Regions from separate parts of the Homo sapiens genome. Here region 2 is linked to region 1. The links are contacts of gene promoters, found by promoter capture Hi-C in blood cells and fetal thymus (Javierre and others, 2016). All regions are on one chromosome and are shown on one strand. The core of a region is centred on a gene start or on the middle of the fragment in contact, and the rest is flanking DNA. Distances in the headings are between cores, read along the strand shown. Region 1 holds the start of ZNF551 (zinc finger protein 551). Region 2 overlaps ZNF274 (zinc finger protein 274).

What was found. Contacts are between HindIII fragments. The CHiCAGO score rates a contact against its expected background, and 5 or more counts as called.
Region 2: a contact is called between a fragment that was not itself captured here and the fragment with the promoter of ZNF551 in region 1, in 1 of 17 cell types (total CD8 T cells). The highest score is 5.0, in total CD8 T cells.

Annotation. Positions count from the first base shown.
Region 1 is chr19:57,680,164-57,684,708 of GRCh38, reverse strand. It overlaps ZNF551 (zinc finger protein 551), which reads right to left and starts at 2,732. Exons shown (of 3, transcript NM_138347.5): 1 at 2,465-2,732. The coding sequence starts at 2,545. RefSeq lists a silencer at 2,292-2,361 and an enhancer at 2,417-3,040. The HindIII fragment of the contact is 7,295 bases long and covers 1-4,545 here.
Region 2 is chr19:58,199,509-58,204,053 of GRCh38, reverse strand. The region is part of intron 4 of ZNF274 (zinc finger protein 274); the gene reads right to left. Among named protein-coding and RNA genes, the nearest start is that of ZNF274, 19 kb to the right of the region's middle. The HindIII fragment of the contact is 4,047 bases long and covers 281-4,327 here.

The sequences.
Region 1 (4,545 bases), core at 1,483-3,982:
CTAGGACCCCAAATTCATCCCTGCTGCATCTATCCCCTGTTCATCCTCCTCTCCATCTTCTCATTTGAAAGAATGCAACAGGGCCTGGTGACACTAATGCCCCCTCTCTCCTTATGGTCCCATTGGTCATTGTGTTCTCCCACAGCAACAACAGGCAGGTGGGCAAGTATCTAAGCTCTGAGCCTGCCATGCAAGGAACCATACTCTCTTGTAAGGAAACTCTCCTGGAAGACAACAGACCATGGCTCCCAAACACAACCAAGGGTCTTGGTTCATACTTCACCCTTGTGTCCTCAACACCAAGGAGCCACCACTTCACATTCTTGTCTCCATGTGCACAATACTCTACCACACTTCTCTCACAGTGTCACTCCCACAGCCACAGCTTACTTCCTGCCTCATACCATGAGCATCTCCTTGGCCTCCCAACTGGTTACTCAGCATATGGGGCCCAGAGAGTGGCTGGCAAATTCAAATACGGTTCAGTACTATCCCAGATCTCTAACTGCACCTAAAGTTAGGGGCAGCCTCAAGTCATACCATGAAGGCCTTTCTACCTGACTATTCCTTGCTTCAACCTCACCCATCAAGAATCACCTGTGGATCTCAGATAACCAAGGCCTCTTCCACTTCTGGGCTGTGATTGCTGTCCCCCAACCAGTCACAGCCTTCCTCTCTCCAACTACCACTAATTCAAGGTCCAACCCCAGTGGCTCTCTACCCCGGGCCCATCGAGTCCCACAGATGGCCAATTATGCCCCTAAGATAACGTGACAGCCTGACTGAAACTTCCCAGATCCCACCAAGAGTTAATATAAAACCCTGGTCAGTCTGCAGAGAGGTGAATACGCACCAGTCCTAGCATCATCCTGTCTAACTCCTATGCCTCTACATTCATCTCATGTCTACTCACCCCTGAGAAGCCTTGGCCACATGCTAGATCATAATCTCTGTACGACCCTCACCGTGAACACTTCTGTCCAAGACCTGTGTTGCAACACCTCACACAACCAGGGGCTCACACAGGAGACCTGTCCTTGACCTTCCCCTCCCCTTCCTTGACAACTATTATTATCATTGTGAGCAGGCTTCCCCTCTACTAAATGTGATCCACAGCTCCACCCCGGCCCACAGATTGTCCACTACCTTTTGGAAAAGTCTCCATTCTGAATCTCTCCTCACTGTTCCTGACCTACAGTTCCAGCAGCCCATGAACCATTCTCTGAAAGCTCTCATACTCTTAGCAGGTCAAAAATAAAACTTCTGATATCCCAAATGAAAACTACTCCTACTATGTACTTCCCCATCTTAGTTGATGGAGCTTCCACACTTCTAACTGCCAAAATAAAACCTTTCAGTCATCCCTGACTCCACTCTCTTTCTCAAAACTAAAAATTCAGGCAGCCCTACTTAAAAAATGAATCCAGAATCCAACTGCTTCTCGCATCTTCACAGCCACCATTTTGGCCTATCACATTCTATCACATTCACCTGGCCTATCCCAGTAGTCTCCTCCCAGGTCTCCCCACCTCATCCTTCAGTTGGCTTCCCATGCTGCAGCCACAGGGAGCCTAATAAGACCAGAACCAGATCACCTCCCTCTTCCACTCCAAACCTCCCACTGTTACTATTAAGTAACGAATAGACAACTCAACTTCTCAGGGAACCATTCCGGGTCTGACTTCTACTACACTGCTCCCTGTTCTCATGAAAAGAAAATAATTGTAGGTTCCTGAACTATCTTAGCCTCCTCTCCAAACTTAGCATATACTGGTAACTTTGCCTTGGACAACCTTCTACATCTCCTTTCCCCCGGCTGCCAACAGCTTCATATAATCTAACCTGGACTTAAGACTCTGGGCTTTGTATTTGCTCAAAGTCTCAGGGCCCAAGGCTAGACGAGTGGCGAGGCTCAGGTCGCCCAATGACCCTGGTCCAGTTTTGGAGCCAGGTGGCCTGGGCTGGCTGCACTATCTCCGCACCTCAGTTCTCAGTGCTGACTTTACCAGCTGCGTGAGCTTGGACAAGAACTCAGTCTTCCTATGCCTAACTACTATTACCTCTCTTCAGCCTGTTCTTCCCCTGAGCAACTTTTGGATAGCTTTAGGAAATCCTAGCCCAGTGTCCCTATCTGTTCACAAATCTCGAAGGCTGCCAGTGTCCTCAGAATCGTCAAATTCGTCAGGTGCAACTCTGCCTCACTCTATGTTCCTGCAGACCCGAGACGGACCCCAGGCTCCTGAATCCCCCCCAGCTTAGTCGCAGCTCCAAGTTCTGCACGCGCCAGTCAACTGCCCGTCACATTTCCGTACACACTGGGCGTCACAAACGGGTCCAATCCACAAGCGCCTTCTTGTCCAGGGTACTGGGGCCTGGGCTGCAGGGCTGTGAGCAGGCATCCCTCACTGGGCCTTAAGGCTTCTGCTGGGGGAGGTAGGCGAGACCCGGAGGACGCACAACTCACCTGAGCCGAGTCCCTCAGCGCGACTGCCGCCATTGAGCTCCGTGGACTAGGCGGGGAGCGGCGGCCGACCGGGGCGGGCATTCGAACACAACAGTCCCTATCCCGGGCCTGGCGCAGCTCACCCGAGGTGGTGTCGCAGAACCTCTGGCCCACTTTCGCGACTTCTCTGTCCCGTCCCTCAGTCGCGACCTCCACTGCAGAAACTGGCGGGCTGGACAAACAGGACAGAGGCCAAAATGACCGCCACGAGGAGGACGCCGGAAGTTCCGGCCCGTCGCGCTGCGCGTGCGCGGAAGTGTTGCTATCCTGGGCTGTCATTGGCTCAACTCCGCCGCCGTTTTGCGCTCTGCACTCTGGATAATGTAGTTTCCAAAACTCCACGGAGCTCTTCGGAGTGTGTCCACTGCTTTGACCTCTGCGAACTTGTATTCTGAGGTGCTGTGCCCCGTGCAGGGAAATGGCGACTTCGGCCTCTAGGGGAGAAGGAGGTATTTACTCCTTCTTAAAGGGGCTTTTCCCAGATTTCTGGGAAGTGTTTTCCGTAACTGATCACTTAAGTGTTTAGAGACATTATTTCAGACTCCACGAAGCTCAGGGTGCCCCTAGAGGCAAACAAATATTATTTCAGGGGGTTGGGCGCGGTGGCTCACGCCTGTAATCCCAGCACTTTAGAAGGCCGAGGCGGGCGGATCACCTGAGGTCAGAAGTTCGAGACCAGGCTGGCCAACATGGCGGAACCCCATCTCTACTAAAAATACAAAAATTAGTCGGGCGGGCCGGGCGCAGTGGTTCACGCCTGTAATCCCAGCACTTTGGGAGGCCAAGGTGGGTGGATCACGCGATCAGGAGTTCGAGACCAGCCTGGCCAACATGGTGAAACCCTGTCTCTACTAAAAATACAAAAATTAGCCGGGCATGGTGGCGAGCGCCTGTAATCCCAGTACTTGGGAGGCTGAGGCAGGAGAATCGTTTGAACCTGGGAGGCAGAGGTTGCAGTGAGTCGAGATCACGCCATTGCACTCCAGCCTGGGCGACAGGGGGAGACTCCGTCTCCAAAAAAAAAAAAAGAAAAAAAAAATTTGGATTTTGGAGCATTTTGGATTTTAGATTTTTGGCTCAGGGATATTCAACCTGTATTTTGTTCTCATTAAATAGGTTCCTCTTTCACTTTGTTATTGTTTGATATACTAAAGTTTTAATTTTCATGAAGTCTAATTGGTCTATTTTTCTTTTGTCACATGTGTATTTGGTGTCAAATCCAAGAAATTATGGCCAAATTCAATGTCATAAAACTTTCACCCTATATTTTCTTTTAAGTGTTTTATAGTTTTGGGTCTTATGTTTAGGTTTTTAGTCCATTTTGAGTTCATTTGTGTTTTTGGTGTTAGGTAAGGGTTCACCTTCATTCCTTAGCATGTGAATATTTCATTTTCCCAGCATCATTTGCTGAAAAGATCATCGTTTCCCCATTGAGTGGTCTTGGTAGCCTTGTTGAGATCATTTGACCATATACATTACTATTGCAAATGATATTGTTTTCTTAATTTCCTTTTCAGATTTTTCATTGTTAGTGTATGGAAGGGCATATGAGTTTTACATGTTGACTTTTGCATGTTGACTTTGAATTCAGCTACACAGGTGAATTTGTTTATCAGTTCTTTTTTTTTTTTTTTTTCCCAGACGGAGTCTCACTCTGTTGCCCAGGCTAGAGTGCAATGGCTTGATCTTGGCTCACCACAAGTTCCACCTCCCAGGTTCAAGCAATTCTTCTGCCTCAGCCTCCCAAGTGGCTGGCACTACAGGCGCCAGCACCATGCCCGGCTAATTTCTGTATTTTCAGTAGAGCGAGGGTTTTACCATGTTGGCCAGGCTGGTCTTGAACTCCTGACCTCAGGTGAGCCACTGCGCCTGGGCTTTTTTGTTTTTGTTCTTGAGACAGTGTCTTGCTCTGTCTCCCAGGGTGGAGTGCAGTGGCGCGATCTCAGCTCACTGCAACCTCTGCCTCCCGGGTTCAAGCGATTCTCCTGCCTCAGCCTCCTGAGTAGCTGGGGTTACAAGCATACACCACCATGCCCAGCTAA
Region 2 (4,545 bases), core at 1,055-3,554, 520 kb before region 1:
CCCGTTTGCGCGCTGCACAGGTTTGGCTGGAGGTGCCCACCGCTGGCACGGGCCCAGGGAGTCAGCTCCGCGCTGGGATCTGCCCAGAGCCAGTGCCCGCGCTGCCTTCTCGCAGCCCAGGCCGTCCTTCCAGCGAGGTGGCGCAATTGTAGATCACGACCTGAGCCACGCTTTAAATTTTCGACCATTACCAGTCTACGCTTGAAGTGATTTTTCTTCTTGATAAGATTAATCAGACACACTTGTGCACCTAATTCCAACCTCTTCCCCCAAATAAGCTTTTGAGGTATTTTCATTTTGGGGGCTTGGCCTCTCCAACTCATTTATAAGTGCTCTGATCTGTATTTAATTCCCTTTCTGTTTCTTAGGACTTCTGGGGACTTACTTCGCCCCAAGTAACTTTTCTTAATTTGAAAGCATACTTCATTTATTTTCTTTCAATTACAGCGTTTTTTTCTTTTTTTTTTTTTTTTTGAGACGGAGTTTCGCTCTTAGTCGCCCACGCTAGAGTGCAGTGGAGGGATCTCGGCTCACTGCAACCTCCGCCTCCCGGGTTCAAGCAATTCTCCTGCCTCAGCCGCAGCTGGGATTACAGGCGCCCACCGCCAGGCCCAGCTAATTTTTGTATTTTTAGTAGAGACAGGGTTTCGCCATCTTGGCCAGGCTGGTCTCGAACTCCTCACCTCAGGTGATCCGTCCATCTCGGCCTCCCAAAGTGCTGGGATTACAGGTGTGAGCCACCGTGCCCAGCCCAATTACAGCTCTTAAGGCTTGAATTTTTCCTGAGAAGCAGCTGGGGATAAGATTTACTGGAGGCCCAGCAGCACCGGACTAAGTGCCTAGGACATGGGACATGCACCAACTGAATCTGTACTTCCTGGGGGGGGGCTAAGTGGCAGACCAGCACTGGGCCACCAGTACTATTTTAGGTAACCATGCATGACACTTAAACATCTTAAACGTTACTTCATAAATTTCTAAAATTTCATTTTTGTATTCCTTAATCGAGGGATTTTCATGCCTTGGCCCCTAGGAAAACAACTGTTGGATTCTTCTACTCCACCCCACCCCTTTCTAATGTACTTACTTCTGCTTTAATCTTTATTATTAACCCATGAGGCCCCACACTCTGTTCTGTACACAGTTATCATAAAGCACCTTTTGCATGCTGTGGAACCAAGGACACCACAGTGAACAGAGAGACCACAAACCCAGAAACTGGTGAGGAAGTGATGGACTCATTCTGTGCACCTCAGTCCTCCAAATGTCAACCCATAGACTATCCCAAGACCTTTAGGGCAATCCTTACCACTGTCTATTGCAGGAAATTAGCTGCTCCACTTCATGGAGGAGAAAATGGAAGCTCTTAAGTTCACCACCAGGCAGAGGTGGAACTGGATTCTCATTCCACCCATCTCATTCCACAGACATGACTGACCCAACCCACTCATGTGGAGCTGCATAATCCCTATCAGCTGGAGCTCCAAATGGCTTTCAGTCCAGCAACTGAATGAGCCCGTAGCAATGTAGTCACCTCACCTACAACTGTCTGTCTAATGGGTTGTGAAACAAATTCACTGAGGCTCAAAGCAAGGGGTTTAATCAAGAGAGATTAACTTCTTGAGCCTGAGTTTCTTCACCCAAAGTGATGAGATACCAAAGTCCAGGCACAGCATGTGGTAAGGGCTTGATGGGAGCTGCTGCTTTCTCCCTCTTGACACTATTTTCTTCTCTCAGGATACTTCTACCTCTCTGCTGCTTCCCTTCCAGGGTGACAAACAGGCCTTAGGCAGCTGTCTTCCTCACAGTGCTGTTTGCCAGTGAATGCTGATTAGCCAGGTATACCAGTCCAAAATATAACGAAAAGCAATGATCTTTTTAGCAGCTTGTGGGGGAAAAGTCAGAAGAGTACTTACCCTCAGCTCCCCTAATCCCTGGGCACAGTACCCCATCACTTTTCCTCCTTGTCTGGAAAGCTCTCAGCTCTCCTGTTCTCTCTCATCATTCCCTCAGTGCCCCTAAGCTCCCTGTTGGATTACCTTCTGCATCTGTCTCCTCCAGTGTACCACTGAGGCTGCCAACTGGGACTTGTGGATCTCACACCCCTAAGTAGAGGATCTGCCAAAGGCTGCTGATCATCTTTACGTTACTCAGTTTTTGAATCAATGACAGTACCATCATTTCACGAAGGCTGCCCACAGTCCCAGGAAGCAAATGTACACCATACACAAAAGAAATATGCCTGGTGCGGTGACTCATGCCTGTAATCCCAGCACTTTGGGAGGCCGAGGTGGGCAGATCACAAGGTCAGGAGTTTGAGACCAGCCTGGCCAATATGGTGAAACCCCGTCTCTACTAAAAACACAAAAGTTAGCTAGGCGAGGTGGCGGGCACCTGTAGTCCCAGCTACCTGGGAGGCTGAGGCAGGAGAATCACTTGAACCCAGGAGGTGGAGGTTACAGTGAGCTAAGATCACACCACTGCACTCCAGCCTGGGCGACAGTGCAAGACTCCATCTCAGAAAGAAAAAAAAAAAAAAGAAATTCATGCTGGGATAGGCTAGGAACCCTGCCCAGGGTTGCAGAGTGGATGATCCGGTTTGGTTCTGTGTCCCTACCAAATCTCAGGTTGAAAAGTGATGCTGTGTTGGAGGTGGGGCCTGGTGAACCTTCAAGAATGGCTTAGCACCATCCTCCTGGTGGTTAAGTTAATCACACGAGATCTGGTTGTTTAAAAAAGTGTGGCCGGGCAGAATGGCTCACGCCTGTAATCCCAGCACCTTGGGAGGCTGAGGTAGGTGGTTCGCTTGAGCCCAGGAGTTCTAGACCGGCCTGGGCAACATGGCAAAACCCCATCTCCACAAAAAAAAAAAAAAAAAAAAATTAGCCAGGCGTAGCGGCATGTGCCTGTAGTCCTGGCTACTCAGGAAGCTGAGGTGGGAGAATCGCTTGAACTCAGGAAGTCGAGGCTGCAGTGGGTCATGATCGCACCACTGTACTACCGCCTAGGTGAGAGTGAGACCGTGTCTCCAAAAAAAAAAACAAAACAAACAAACAACAGTATGCGGCACCTTCTTCCTCTCTCTGGCTGCTGCTTTTCCCATGATGTGCCTGCTCCCTGCCTTCCACCATGAGTAAAAAGCTCCCTGAGGCCTCCCCAGAAGCCAACCAGATGCCAGTGCCACCCTTGTACAGCCTGCAGAACTGTGAGCCAATTAAATCTCTTATCTTCATAAATAACCCAGTCTCAGGTATTTACAGCAATTTAAGAACGGCCTAACATAGTGGGCAACAAAGGAGCCGGGTTCCAAACCCTGTTATTTCATGTCCTTGACGCTAAAGGGGTCTCCCACAGCCACCATCTTAGTTTTCCTAGAATATGGCCTTTCATCCAGAGATCCACATGTGCACCACCCTCCTGCCTGGTATAGTCTTCCCCAACATCTTCGCCTGGTTCACCTTCCCCAACATCTTCACCTGGTTCGCCTTTCCCATTCAGGTCTGAGCTCAAACGTCACCTCCTCAGAACCATCTTCCTACTTAGTTCTGAACTACTGCTGCCCACCCGTACCTCGCTTGTCCCCCACCAATGTATCCCATTGTTTCCTTCTCTTTCCAACACTCATTACCATCCCAAATATCTGATTCATTAATTTATCATGTCTATCACCCTATCTAGAGCAGTGCTGTCCAATGGAACTTTCTATAAATGAGATGTTCTAGATCTGTACTGTCCAACATAGTAGCATTAGCTGCAGGGCCAATGAGCAGTTGAAAGGTGCCCAGTGCAATTGAGGTACTGAATGGGCAACTTCATTTTTGTTGATCCAATCAGCCATGGAATGGATGTAGGCCCAATGAAAGCAGGTGTAAGACCTGCCCCACTCATCACTGTGATCCAGCCCTGGAACAGTACCTGGAATCCTGGCAAGTGCTCAAGTAATATTTGTTGATTCAACACAGCTTCTTTGCAACATGAAAGCACACATAGTTTGCACCCCACTTGCTTCTTCTCAGCCAAGCCCATGTCAGGGACTTGTATTTCTGGTCCCATGGTAAAATGGCCCCAGCAGCATTTCTCCAGAGGTTGATGGCTAGAATGACTTCAGGACTCAGGAAAAGGACATCAGTACTTCTAGCCTTTTTAAGCCCTCAAAATAAGTTAATACTTCTATTTATCAAGTCTTCCACACTCCAGCACTTACAACTTTCTTCAAATAGGTCCTGCTCATTCTTTAATAATTTATTCTTTGGTATAACTTTTTAAAGGTATTAATGTATTTTGTATATCCATGTCAAATTTGATATTCCTGGTGTAAACCAAAGCTTTTTCTTTCTTTTTGAGATGGAATCTCGCACCATAAGCCAGGCTGGACTGCAGTAGTGCGATCTCTGCTCATGGCAACATCCAACTCCTGAGTTCAAGCAATTCTCATGCCTCAGCCTCCCGAATTACAGGTGCACGCCACCACGCCCGGCTAAGTTTTTGTATTTTTAGTAGAGACAGAGTTTCACCATGTTGGCCAGGCTGGTCTTGAACTCCTGG